2 separate regions of the Homo sapiens genome follow, and region 1 is linked to region 2. The links are contacts of gene promoters, found by promoter capture Hi-C in human tissues and cell types (Jung and others, 2019). All regions are on one chromosome and are shown on one strand. The core of a region is centred on a gene start or on the middle of the fragment in contact, and the rest is flanking DNA. Distances in the headings are between cores, read along the strand shown.

Region 1 (6,742 bases), core at 2,681-5,180, 150 kb before region 2:
CGTTTTAGCCGGGATGGTCTCGATCTCCTGACCTCGTGATCCGCCCGCCTCGGCCTCCCAAAGTGCTGGGATTACAGGCGTGAGCCACCGCGCCCGGCCATTTTTATATTTTTTAGTAGAGACAGGGTTTCGCCACGTTGGCCAGGCTGGTCTTGAACTCCTGACTGCAAGTGATCGCCCACTTTGGCGTCCTATAGTGCTGGGATTACAGGCGTGAGGCACCACTCTCGGCCTGTGTGATATCTTTATAACCATATCCATTAAACAGGTTGTGAGAACAAAATTAAGTAATTGTTAACAGTAGCATATGCACTTATGTAGAAATTTTTGTGTGGTTTGGATGTTAGCATCTCATTTTTGGTAAAGGAAGAGGAGTTTGGGTAAAATTTATCTCTTTAAGGTCTGGTTCAGTGAAAGAAAGCATTTATTAGGTCTGGATACTTAAAAATTCTTTTAATTAAGACTTATTTATCTTTTATTTAGATATGTTATATGATGATAAATATACTTGATAAATACACCTGCAAAGCAGGAAATAATACATTGGTTTCCTAACATTTTTTCTTCCGTGATAGAGTGATTATAGCAGTGCATAAGTTCTTACACTTATTTGTTGAATTCTCTTACCTGTCATCCTAAAAAAGTAAATTTGTCCATGTTCATGCTTAGCTATTAAGCTTTATTAATTCAAGATTAAAAGCTTTAAGATATATGACTAAATTTTTTCTCTTGTTTACTTCATAATATCTATTTGAATGGAGGAGATACAAGTGGAGGCAGTGAATGCAACAGTATTTCTTCATTGTGTTTGTATCTTTCATATGATCTTACAGCAAAAAGTTTCTAAAACCCTTCTTTAAATAAAGAACAAGATCACTGAATATGTAACATCCTCAACAGCGCATTTCTTTTCTCTTCTCTACTTTTTTATATCCTTGAATAATACTGGCCAGAAAGAATATTTGAAGAGGTTCTTTCTAAATGTATTTTAATATTCATGTTAATTATACATCTTGTATGGTGAATTTGGTGCATTTAAAATAAAAATAATTTTATGTGTTTAATTATTGCATTCTGATCATTTGTAGGCGAAACCTAACCAAACTGTCCCTCATCTTCAGCCACATGCTGGCAGAACTAAAAGGAATCTTTCCAAGTGGACTCTTTCAGGGAGACACATTTCGGATTACTAAAGCAGATGCTGCGGAATTTTGGAGAAAAGCTTTTGGGGAAAAGTAAGTCTCAGAATAATGAATTTGAACTATGAAAAACTAAAGCTTACGAGTTTTTTCTTTACTTTTTTACTAATGAAATATTTAAAATTTGGGAACTCTGAGAAAAGTAATATATGTGTATGTATTTCCTGGCTTTGGTTAAATATTAAGTTTTTGCTCTGTTCATTGTTTTTAAAAAATAGTTTTGCAGATTAAATTGAAACCCATGCTCTTTGAATACTCTTCCCTTTCTCTCCCCATCCATTGTGGTTTCTTTTTGAGACGGAGTCTTGCTCTGTTGCCCAGGCTGGAGTGCAGTGGTGCGATCTCCACTTACTGCAAGCTCTGCCTCCTGGGTTCATGCCATTCTCCTGCCTCAGCCTCCTGAGTCGCTGGGACTATAGGTGCCTGCCACCACGCCCGGCTAATTTTTTGCATTTTTAATAGAGACAGGGTTTCACCACGTCAGCCAGGATGGTCTCGACTTCTGACCTCGTGATCCACCTGCTTCGGCATCCCAAAGTGCTGGGATTACAGGCGTGAGCCACCATGCCCAGCCCCATTCTGCTCTTAATGGACATGTACATTTCACATTATTTGCTATCAGCAGTGAGCAATATCTAAGTTGTCTTCATATGCAAGAAATTGTCTTTATTTACATACGCAGGAGTGGAATTGCTAAGTCTTGGGGTTTTACATCTTTTGCTTTGCTAAGTATTGTCCAATTTCTTTCCAAAATGGTGTACCAGTTCATATTTTACAGTAGCCCCACAGTTTGGCTAACGCTGGCGATGTGAATTGGTGTAATATTTTGCTTTATATTCCCTGATGAGAAGGGAGATTGAGCTTCTTCTCACCTTTATGACCAGTCAAGATTCTTATTCTTACTTGCCTGTTCCTATTTCTGATTTACCCATTTTCTTATTGAGTGGTTTATCTTTCTGTTATTATAGGTTACTAGTTCTTTGTTAGATACTTACATTACAAATATCTTCTCCCAGTCTGTGGCTTACCTTTTCCGTTTTGCTGTATTGTCTCTCTATATATTATATAGGTTGATTTATGCATCAAGCTTGTATTTTTAAGTATAAATATAAATATCCTAGGTTTTGTCGTTTTATTTTTTTTTTTTTTTGAGACAGGATGTCACTCTCTTGCCTAGTCTGGTGTGCAGTGGTACAATCAATCATAGCTCATCGCAGCCTCAAACTCTTGGATTCAAGCAGTTCTCCCAAGTAGCTGGGACTACACGTGTGTGCTGCCAGGCCCAGCTAATTTGCAGAGACAGGATTTTGCTGTGTTACCCAGGCTGGTCTCGAAGTCCTGGCCTCAAATAATCTTTCCCCCTGGCCTCTCAAAGTACTAGGATTACAAGCGTGAGCCACTGTGTTAGGCCCAAGTTTCTCTTTAAAGGCCTTCATTTTTGGCCAGGCACAGTGGCTCACTCCTGTAGTCCCAGCACTTTAGGTGGCCAAGGCAGGAGGATTTCTTGAGGCCAGAAGTTTGAGACTACTACCCTGGATGACATTACAAGACCTGGTCTTTATTTGTAAATTATTTTTTATTTTTCTTTTCTTGTTTTGCAGCAAGGTTTCACTCTGTTGCCCAGGCTGTAGTGCAGTGGCACGATCTCACTTGCAACCTCTGCCTCCAAAGTTCAAGTGATTTTCCCCCCTCAGCCTCCAGAGTAGCTGGAACTAATTAGTCTGGCTAATTTTGTTTGTTTGTTTGTTTTTGTAGAGACAAAGTTTCACCATATTGCCCAGTCTGGGCTCAAGCAGTCTGCCCACTTTGGCCTCTCAAAGTGCTGGGCCTCCCAAAGGCATGCACCATGGCTCCTGGTCCCCTTCTTTCTTTTCTTAAAGAAGTTGACCTGTATTTTGAATTACGAGAATTGAAATTGGTATTGAGAGCTTAATGTGGCTCTCCTTCCTTTCCTTGATTATGGCGATGCCTGGAATTATCTCTGTTATTTCACTTTATGCCTCCTCTCCACCCCCTCCCCAGGACAATAGTCCCTTGGAAGAGCTTTCGACAGGCTCTACATGAAGTGCATCCCATCAGTTCTGGGCTGGAGGCCATGGCTCTGAAATCCACTATTGATCTGACCTGCAATGATTATATTTCGGTTTTTGAATTTGACATCTTTACCCGACTCTTTCAGGTAGGACACTAAAAAAGTTGACTAAACTGGTTACTGCTACTTCGGTGAAGAGAAAGCTTTTTTTTTTTTTTTTTAAATAACATTTGGGGTTTTTGTCTGTATGAAAGTATTTTAATTCATTTTAGGAACTATGCCAAAAAAAAGATTAAAACTATCTCATATTAAAAATATATGTATGTGTGTGTATGTATATATAGTGAAAATGACAGCTATACCAACTGCTTTCTTCTCCTCACATCTTTCCTTGTTATTGAATATTCTTCTTTTGTATCATTTTAATGTTTGTAGAATGGCCAGAATATGAATATATTAGTTTTCTGATATTGGATATTTGTGTATGTTTGCAACTGTTTCTCCTGTTTTATTGAAATTGACTGTTAATATTGAGATGTTTAGATGCTTCAAAAACAACTCCTTTCTTTTTCTCTAAAAATAATGCTTTCTCTGGTGTTGTCTGTGCCAATTTGCATACACATTTATTTGGAACTTATTAGTTGCACCTATAGGCCCTATCCTGGTTTTCAGTTTGTTGTTGTTCAACCCCACTACTGTTAATTAGAGCTGCTTTACAAATTCTAGAATTTTCATTTTGTGTCAAGTTTCTCCCTATAAGCATATATTCTTTTCTTCGTAGCTTTTCAGAGTTTTTAATCTCCTGAACACATGTGTCTTCTCTCTGAGTGATGGTATAATTAAAAATTTCTGACAATGAACTGAGAGTTGGTGTTGTTTTTTTTTTTTCTCATTGCCCTCTGAGTTGGTTGTACATCTGACCTGAATAGTCTGTGATTGATCTTGTTTCTTTAGCCCTGGTCCTCTTTGCTCAGGAATTGGAACAGCCTTGCTGTAACTCATCCTGGCTACATGGCTTTTTTGACGTATGACGAAGTGAAAGCTCGGCTCCAGAAATTCATTCACAAACCTGGCAGGTCAGTTCAATGACGCAAAGAGATTTATTCTTCTGAATTTCGTTATCTTGAGACTTCTGCTAGTATAGAAGAAACATGACCTTAATTAGTTTCGCAATAGCCAAGGTTCTGCAATAGGATTGATACCTGTTTATCAGACGTATTGACTTAATTCAGATCCTATAATTTGATAAATGTTTTCAGGCCACTTAAGAATTGAATTTATGGCCGGGCACAGTGGCTCACGCCTGTCATCCCAGCACTTTGGGAGGCCGAGGCGGGCAGATCACGAGGTCAGGAGTTTGAGACCAGCCTGGCCAAAGTGGTAAAACCCTGTCTCTACTAAAAATACAAAAATTATCCAGGTGTGGTGCGGGTGCCTGTAATCCCAGCTACTCAGGAGGCTGAGGCAGGAGAATCACTTGAACCTGGGAGGTGGAGGTTGCAGTGAGCCGAGATCATGTCATTGCACTCTAGCCTGGGCAATAAGAGCGAAACCCCATCTCAAAAACAACAAAAACAAAAAAAGAATAGAGTTTATGTGTCTTTTGCTTCTGGTGTGGAGTCATGGAAGAAGTTACTCTCTTTTTAAAAATATTTTCTTTCTTTTTTCTTGTCACTGACTTGAAGCTCAGAAGTAGTTATTCTTGGCTGGGTGTGGTGGCTCACACCTGTAATCCCAGCACTTTGGGAGGCCAAGGTGGGCAGATACTTGAGATCAGAAGTTTAAGACTGGCCTGGCCAACATGGCGAAACCCCATCTCTACTAAAAATACAAAAATTAGCCAGGTGTGGTGGCACATACTGTAGTCCCAGCTACTCAGGAGGCTGAGGCAGGAGAATCATTTGAACCCAGGAGGTGGAGGCTGCAGTGAGCTGAGATTGTGCCACTGCACTCTAGCCTGGGTGACAGAGCCAGACTCCATCTTAAAAAAAGAAAGAAAGAAAGGAAGAAAGTTATTGTTATTCTTGATGGTTCTTTTGATTTTTGTCTGTATCTTGCCTTGCCTTCCACCGTAATACCAGCATAATCTACTAAAGCTTCTGTTTATGTCTGTTCATAGTTATATCTTCCGGCTGAGCTGTACTCGTCTGGGTCAGTGGGCTATTGGGTATGTTACTGCTGATGGGAACATTCTCCAGACAATCCCTCACAATAAACCTCTCTTCCAAGCACTGATTGATGGCTTCAGGGAAGGCTTGTGAGTACCTACTGCATACCATCTGTTAGAGTCTGGGAACTTAGGGGCTGTCCAACCTCATCATTAATGACTTTATTCCAGGTTTCTTAAACTGCAGACTAAGATTCAGGAAAATATTAACAGATGATATTGATTTGACCTTCAGGTCCTGGAAGACTTTTGTTTTTCTTTTTTAGGGATTCCATGAGTGAAATTATTCTCTACCACTTCAGTTATTACCATAAATAAACTTTATCTTTCTTTTTTCCAAATGTTAACTTATTTTCAAGCCTGTGTTAGGTTTTAAAATATACCAATTAGCAGGAAATTTGACCAGTTATTTAACTAGTCGGCATTCAAGTGATTCAATGTTCCTAATAGCCATAGGCCTCAGTGGCCTTCATCTGCTTTCATCCTCACTTCGCTTTTGTTCAGCAGCATTTCTTCAGGCCTTGGGCTACTGTAACCTATGCTGCTATTTATAACTAAGTCCTTATTTATTCCAGAATTGCTATTCCTTTGAGAATTCAAATTAATTATCAGTTGGTAAACACTTAAAAATACTAACAGTTGACCAGATGGCAGAAAACTAGCTTGTGTTTTGAAGTGATTAGGAAAATACATTTTATATTATACATTATCTTTTACTTACAATAGCATTGGGACTGAAAGGAGTGCTGCCCCAAATGTCAGAACAGTTTGATGCTAGAAACTGTGGATCTCCCTGGTAGATGATCTCAGTAGCTTAATTTGCATATTGTTACATTGCTTTTAAATTGGTGTCTCTCATTTTCTTAAACCTGTAAACCTTCTTTGATCAAAAGCAAATGCAGTTTAAACTAAGAAGTTAAGCCGGGTGCAGTGGTTCACACCTGTGATCCCAGCACTTTGGGAGGCCGAGACGGGTGGATCACCTGAGGTCAGGAGTTCAAGACCAGCCTGGCCAACATGGCAAAACCCTGTCTGTACTAAAAGTACAAAAAGTTAGCCGGACGTGGTGGTGGGTGCCTGTAATCCCAGCTACTTGGGAGGCTGAGGCAGGAGAATCACTTGAATCCAGGAGGCGGAGGTTTCAGTGAGCCAAGATCACTCACTGCAACCTCAAAAAAAAAATAAGAATCTGTCGCGCACACACACACACACACACACACACACACATAAAGAATTTCTATCTGGTGGCCATCCATTGATTAAAAATGGGTTGGTAAACTGTGACCCATGGGCCACCTGTTTGTTCCCCCGGGGAGCCAAGATAGCTTTTCCTAAGAGTCGTTT
Region 2 (5,958 bases), core at 2,169-4,668:
AAAACTGGCTGAGGGAGGTGGTGTCATCCCTGTTTTCCCGCTGGGAGAAGGAAGATTAGGGAGGCCAAAGGCCTTGCCCACAGTTCTGGTGGAACCACACTGCTCTGCCTGTCTGGCCCTGAGCTCTTCACCCCATTCACACCGAAGGCAATGGTTCCCCAGTTGACCAGGCAGCAGTTGGGAGAGGGTGAGAGCGTTATGGGGCTATTCTCCTCTCTAGTCCAGCCAAGGGAACTGCCTGCTGTCCCCGAGCCTGGCTCTCCCAGCTCACTTGACCTTGTTAGGGGCTTGTCTCACCTCTGAGCACTGTGACGTTCTGGGAGGAGATGGGTGGGGAATGGCCAGAGTGGTGGAGTGCACACGTGTAGGTGCCCTCGTCCTTGCTAGTGAAGGCGGATAAGTAGAGGACCTTCATGTTGTATTTGCTGGTGAAGTTGGTTCGGGAGCGGTATGTGTGCTCAGGCACCCCCACAGTGCCAAAGAGCACGTGCTTCTTTGTCTCACGGGTCAGGCTGAACTCGTACTGGATGGGTGAACTGCTGGTATTCTCATGGCGGCAGTCCAGACGAAGGCTCTGGTCCACTAGGCAGGCCGTTAGGCTGGTCACCTTCTGCCCTCGGGAGACCTGCAAGACTGGCACCAGCAGTGCCTCCTTCAAACTGGAGGGGCCTGCGGCACAGGGGCCTCCCACCCACCTGAAGTGGAGAGATGGGCCTGGCTAGGGAGGGGACCGGGGTCTGCTCTCTGAGTGCCTTTCCCCACCCCAGGGATCCCACTTCTCCTTTGCAGACCCCAGCCTCCCTCCCCACTCTGCTTGAGCCTTGGATCCTATCAATGTGTTTCAAGGACAGGAGATCTTAGGGAGTTGATGCTGGTTCCGGGTTCTCAGTTGGGGATTCTAGTTCAATAGTGTGAAGGAGGGCTCAGCAAACTGTGTTTTCAAAAACCACCTCAGGCCGTCAGAATATCAGCGCGGTGGATTGGCTGACTTCAGGATGAAAAAGAGCCCTCTCTTTGTCACCTGCGCTTTTCTGAGACTGTGAGGGAGAAGCTGCTTCTCTGGAGGGAAGGAAGCCAGGGCGCCTGGAGCCCCAGTCCTGCCCCATGCCGGGTACCTGTTAGCAGGAGAGCGATGCTGATGGCCAGGTTCATGGTTCTGGGATCTCAGTCCTGGATCTGGGGTGGGAACAGGATGGGAATCAGCCAAGCTGTGCCACACTTACCACCAGGGCTGGGGGTCCCTGGGAACATGGCATAGTGGCTATGGCAGTCATCTAAGTCCCTCTCTCCATTCCCCCTCTCGTCCCTGCATCTCACTGAACATGATACTGCCACTGGCTCTTTCCTGCTCAGGGAAAGCAAGGAAGGAGGGAGAACAAGCCCAGTCACGGTGTGTTTCTGCGCTTGGCCATGGAGCACTTACTAGCTGGGTGACTTTAAGTAACTTTACCACTCTTTCTCCTCTTCTTACATTAACATAGTGTATGGTAATATAAGACCTATGAGGGCTGAGGCTTCGTATTTAAAAAAAAAATTTAATCGTGGTAAAATACAAAAAGCATAATAATTACTATTTTAACCATTTAAATTCAGTACTTAAATTCAGTATATTCAGCAGTGCTGGATACATTCACGTTGCTATGCAGCCCATCTCCGGAACTCTTTTTGTCTTTCAAAGTAAAACTCTGTATCTGTTAAACAAAGACTCCCCATTTAGGGACTTCCCATTTCCTGTTCAGAAGAAAATCCCCAATGCTCAAAACCGTTTCCGTTTGCAGATTACTGGCATATAGCATACACTCCAAAGATATTTATTGTGAATGAATGAATGAATCTCTCTGAATCTTACATACCCACCGGGTTATGATGGGGGTTAAGAAAAACAACCAACATCTGGCGATGACTGCTTCATATACGTGAGACACAAATCCCTAAGTCACTCGCCATCCCCAGTGGATGGCTAGATACCATTCACCATAGCTAAGGATGCTCCCAGATAGGGAGCATCTATTCCTATCTGGATAGGACACAAGCTAATCGTGTTCCTGGAGGAGAGAAAGACATAGTGATCTCCGATTGTATGTGAGCCAAGGATGCTTCCCAATGTCCAGCTCTCTGGAGTTCCTGGGACTGCAGTTTTCCAGCCCAGTTTCAATAGCCACCCTGGATAGGCTGTCTGCCTGGTCTTTTTTTGTTTTTTGCAGCCTTGGCTGAACCAACCCTTGGCGAGGCGACGCGGAGCCGGTAGTCTAGCCTATCTGCAGAGCAGTGCTCGCCCAGGAGAGGCCACAGAAGGGGCGTGCACCCGCGAGAGCGCGCAGGGCATTGCCTCGGTTGAGTGCGCCCGGGTGCGCAGGGCGCACCACTAGACGAGTTCAGGGTCCCTGGCGCTCAGCCCCTTGACGGGTGAGGCTAGGATCCCGCGGCGGCTGCAGCTACAATCAATGCTCTCTCTGTCCCGGGGTGGAGCTGCTGCCCTGAGCCAGATCCAGGAGGAAGGGGGGTCGGCATCTGGCTTTTGAATCGAGGACTCTTGTTTGAGATGTTGTGCGGGCTTGGGATCTAGGAGGGGAAGGGGGAGCAATGGCCAGAGCAAGAAAGGGAAGAAATGGGTCTGGGGCTGGAGAGGGTAGAAGAGCCAGGGGAGGGGTGGAGAGCGGCTGGGGAGGTGCAGTCTGTATTCATTTCCTCTGGTCTGTGTCCTCAGGCGGCTCCAGACCCAGAGAAGGTCTGCTCTTCCTCCCTCTCAAGCCCCCGGCGGGCCTCATCCTTAATCCATTTCCGTATTCCAATCCTCTCCTTTCCCAAATGAGTCCCCCTTCCCCCTCTCTCATCCTTTTCCAGCTCTCCCCTCCCCCGTCCGCCCGCCTTCCACCCAGTCCCCGCCTGCGGCACTGCGGCTTCCTTCTCCTCCGGTGCCCCGCACCCAGCCCGCCGCGAGGTCACCCGGCAGATTCCCTCTAGCTCGCCATCCTCCATCCTCTCCCCGCAGTTTCATCCGTCCTCCTCCCCGCCTCTGCGAGCTGGGTTTGGGGACGTCTGGGTGGAATGTAGACCCACAGGCTGTCCTTGGTGCCCTTCCTCCCTGTTCTCCAGCGCCCCAGCCCCAGACACCAGTCCCCCAGCGGGCGAAAGCCCGGGAGCGCCTTCCCCGAAAGACATCAGGGTGCCACGCGGCCCCTGCCCTGCAGAAGCATCCCCCTCCCGCCCCTGCCTGGAAAGCAGGCCCCTCCCTAAGCTCTGCGCCCTTCTTCCCTGGGCGCCCTCGGACCGTGGCCCGAAGCCTAGTGTTGGGAAGTCTTGCATGGGCGCCTGACGGCGGTCCCCGAGCCCCAGGTCCCACCGGCTCCAGTTCCCACCTGGACTGGGGTCTTCCGCTGCTGCAGCCTCCTCCAGACGCGCCGCCGCCTCCGGTTGCTGCACCCAGCTCGGAGCCCGCAGTTTTCACCGGGGATGGAGGAGAGGGGGAGCGGGGAGCCGGGGGCTCAGCCAATCAGAGGCGGAGATTGGGGGAGAAAGGACGGCAGGGTGGGGTGGGGGGTGGGGAAGGAAGAGAAGGCGGTCCCGCATTGGTGTGAGAGTGGCAGGTTGCGGCGGAAGGGGGCCCTCACCCTGTGGCTGGCAGGCCTGGCCAGGGACGGGAGGGTTCGGGACCCCGGGGATCAGGGTGCGGCAGCCCAAAGAACATTATCCTCCTCCCTGAGCCCCGCAATGGTTGTTCCCCTTTTAAGGCTTTAACCCTTTCTTCTGACCTATTCTTCAGGAGTCTGTGGGAAAACCAAAGTGTAAGAGGTGCAGGATGCAGGCCGGGAGCGCCCACGCCTCCACATTTCCTTTTCAGCTGGAGCCCACCTCCTCCGGAGCCTCCAGTGAGAAGTTTTGGAATATTCCAGTCTTTCTGAAAGGAAGCTGGTTGGGTGTTTTTCAGTGTTGGAGCAGCCCTTCGGAAGCGAGGCAGGTGCTGGACCCACCCTGTCCGTCCCTGGTCCCCAGCCCCATTTCGCCCCCTCATCTATTCCAGAGCACCCAGCCCTTCAGGGGGCTGCAGGCGCTTTTTGCTCTGGGCATTACGTCTTCTTCAGCCCCTGGGCTGGCACCTTCTGGTCCAGACAGCTGGAAGGTTCTTCTGGCTTTCCTGAGTACAGTCTGCTTGTTTGGTCTTCAGACCAGGAAGGGAGTGTTGCCTTTTAGCAGGCACTGTGCTGGGCACATTACATTCATGGCGACCTTTAACCCATGGCCGCCTGCTGGGTTCATCCCATCTCAATCCTCACCTCCTGTCTTGGCTGGTAAGTGGGAGAGCTGGAGAACTGACCTGGGCTATGGACCCCAGCTCTCAAGGGTGAGCCATTCCTCTTGCTCATCCCTGCCTAGTGGGAGAAGAGAGAGAGGAACTCTGGGAAAGAGGAGGAGACAGCACAAAAAGGACTGAGTCGAGGCCAACTCCTGATCACCTGGGGCACTCCTGATAACCCACCGATTGGATGTCACCAGAAGCCCTAGGCTCATTTTTAGAGACAGTGCTGATGACTTTCTCTCACTCACAGGTGTAGTGAATTTTTTTGAACTAACGTTTATTTGATTGATTTGTATCCTGCCAGCCTCTTTATGAATTCTGATCACGACATTCTGTGGGCCTCCCCAATGTCTGCCTGCCTGTTCTCCTATTTCTTCATGGAAGTCAGCCCTGGCACCTTCCCTGCAGTTTCTGATACTGCAGTGGCACTGTTGGAAGCCACTGTTGGAAGCTTGCAAGTGGGAGGAGATTCGCTTGGTTTCCCAGCATTTAGGGTGATGGAACACTCTAACTGGAATGAGCCTTGCAGATGGTTAAGTCCAAAGGAGCTATTCACTTTGGTAAACTGCAGAGGTTTCTAGGGCATTTTATGAAAAATGCAGCTGGCCTTGCCCACCTAGGACCTCCTTAATCTAGTACTAGAGCCAGCTGAGTCTGCACTTTTCTCACGCTCCCCAGGATCTGGGGACTCTAACACATGATCTGGTAAGACTGTCCCTCTTCATAGGTGAGCTAACCTGGCTTCTTGTTTGTAGGATACTTTTTAAGGCCATGAATGTCCTGGCCCCTGGCTGCTGACTTCCCTCCTCCCTCCAACTCCATCCCAGCCATCTTCCCATTCATCTACCTGATGCATTCCAGACACACTGGCTCTGGCTTCTGTCTGCCTCTTCATGGCAGCGCACTCCTTCCTGCTTAACAGCTTTCTGATTCTGAGTCCAGGGATCTTAACTGCAGAAGGCATCTGGGCTCTGCTGGCTGAGGCCCTGGATGCTCCGTTTCCCACTCTTTGGCCCTGTCTCTGAGTGTTGCTGGGTGGAAGGCCTAGCAGTGCTATTTTGATAAGGTTATGAGGACCTGGCCTAATTTCTGGGTCCCCAAGCACCTTGCTTTTAGGCAGGGGAGGGGAGTATAGACTGTAGAAGGTGTGGCAATTCTGTGTCTGCCAAGCAAGATCTCTGATTGGATGGAATTAATGGCTCTGATTAGACATCTGAGGTCAGGGGATAGAGCACAAGGTGGTGGAGGGAGGAGATTTTAAAACTCCATTTACTGTGGATAGGATCGGAGTGCTGAAACCAGCAAGGCTTTAGAGGAATCCAGCTAAGGCAAGACTTCCTGCCAGAAGACTGCGGCTGCCCTGTTGGTCTCTTAGATCTCTCTTTTCCCACCATCTCCTGTTTTCCCACCCAGAAACATATGGGGATAAAAACTCTTCTAAAAACACACAGTCCTTTAGCATGACCTAGGGACTGCCAGCCATTCCCTCATTTCATCAGATTGTCTTTCTAGAATCACAGAGGTGACTACAGTGGTCCCATCTTTTAAATTTTATTTTATTTTATTTTTGAGCCAGGGTCTCACTCTGTTGCCTAGGCTAGAGTGCAGTGGTGCAATCACCACTCACTGAAGCTTTGACCTCCTGGGCTCAAGTGATCCTC

Evidence for each region. Contacts are between HindIII fragments. The study calls those that stand out against the background at their distance.
Region 1: a contact is called between a fragment that was not itself captured here and the fragment with the promoter of THY1 in region 2, in 1 of the 25 tissues and cell types used here (hippocampus).

What each region holds. Positions count from the first base shown.
Region 1 is chr11:119,270,647-119,277,388 of GRCh38, forward strand. CBL (Cbl proto-oncogene) reads left to right here. Exons shown (of 16, transcript NM_005188.4): 3 at 1,089-1,235; 4 at 3,222-3,378; 5 at 4,186-4,307; 6 at 5,351-5,488. Among named protein-coding and RNA genes, the nearest start is that of MIR6756, 39 kb to the right of the region's middle. The HindIII fragment of the contact is 4,298 bases long and covers 1,782-6,079 here.
Region 2 is chr11:119,419,754-119,425,711 of GRCh38, forward strand. It overlaps THY1 (Thy-1 cell surface antigen), which reads right to left and starts at 3,419. Exons shown (of 4, transcript NM_006288.5): 1 at 3,360-3,419; 2 at 1,116-1,176; 3 at 298-633. The coding sequence starts at 1,152. All of the region lies in intron 2 of USP2-AS1 (USP2 antisense RNA 1), which reads left to right. RefSeq lists enhancers at 1-465, 2,165-2,731, 2,732-3,297. The HindIII fragment of the contact is 13,176 bases long and covers 1-5,958 here.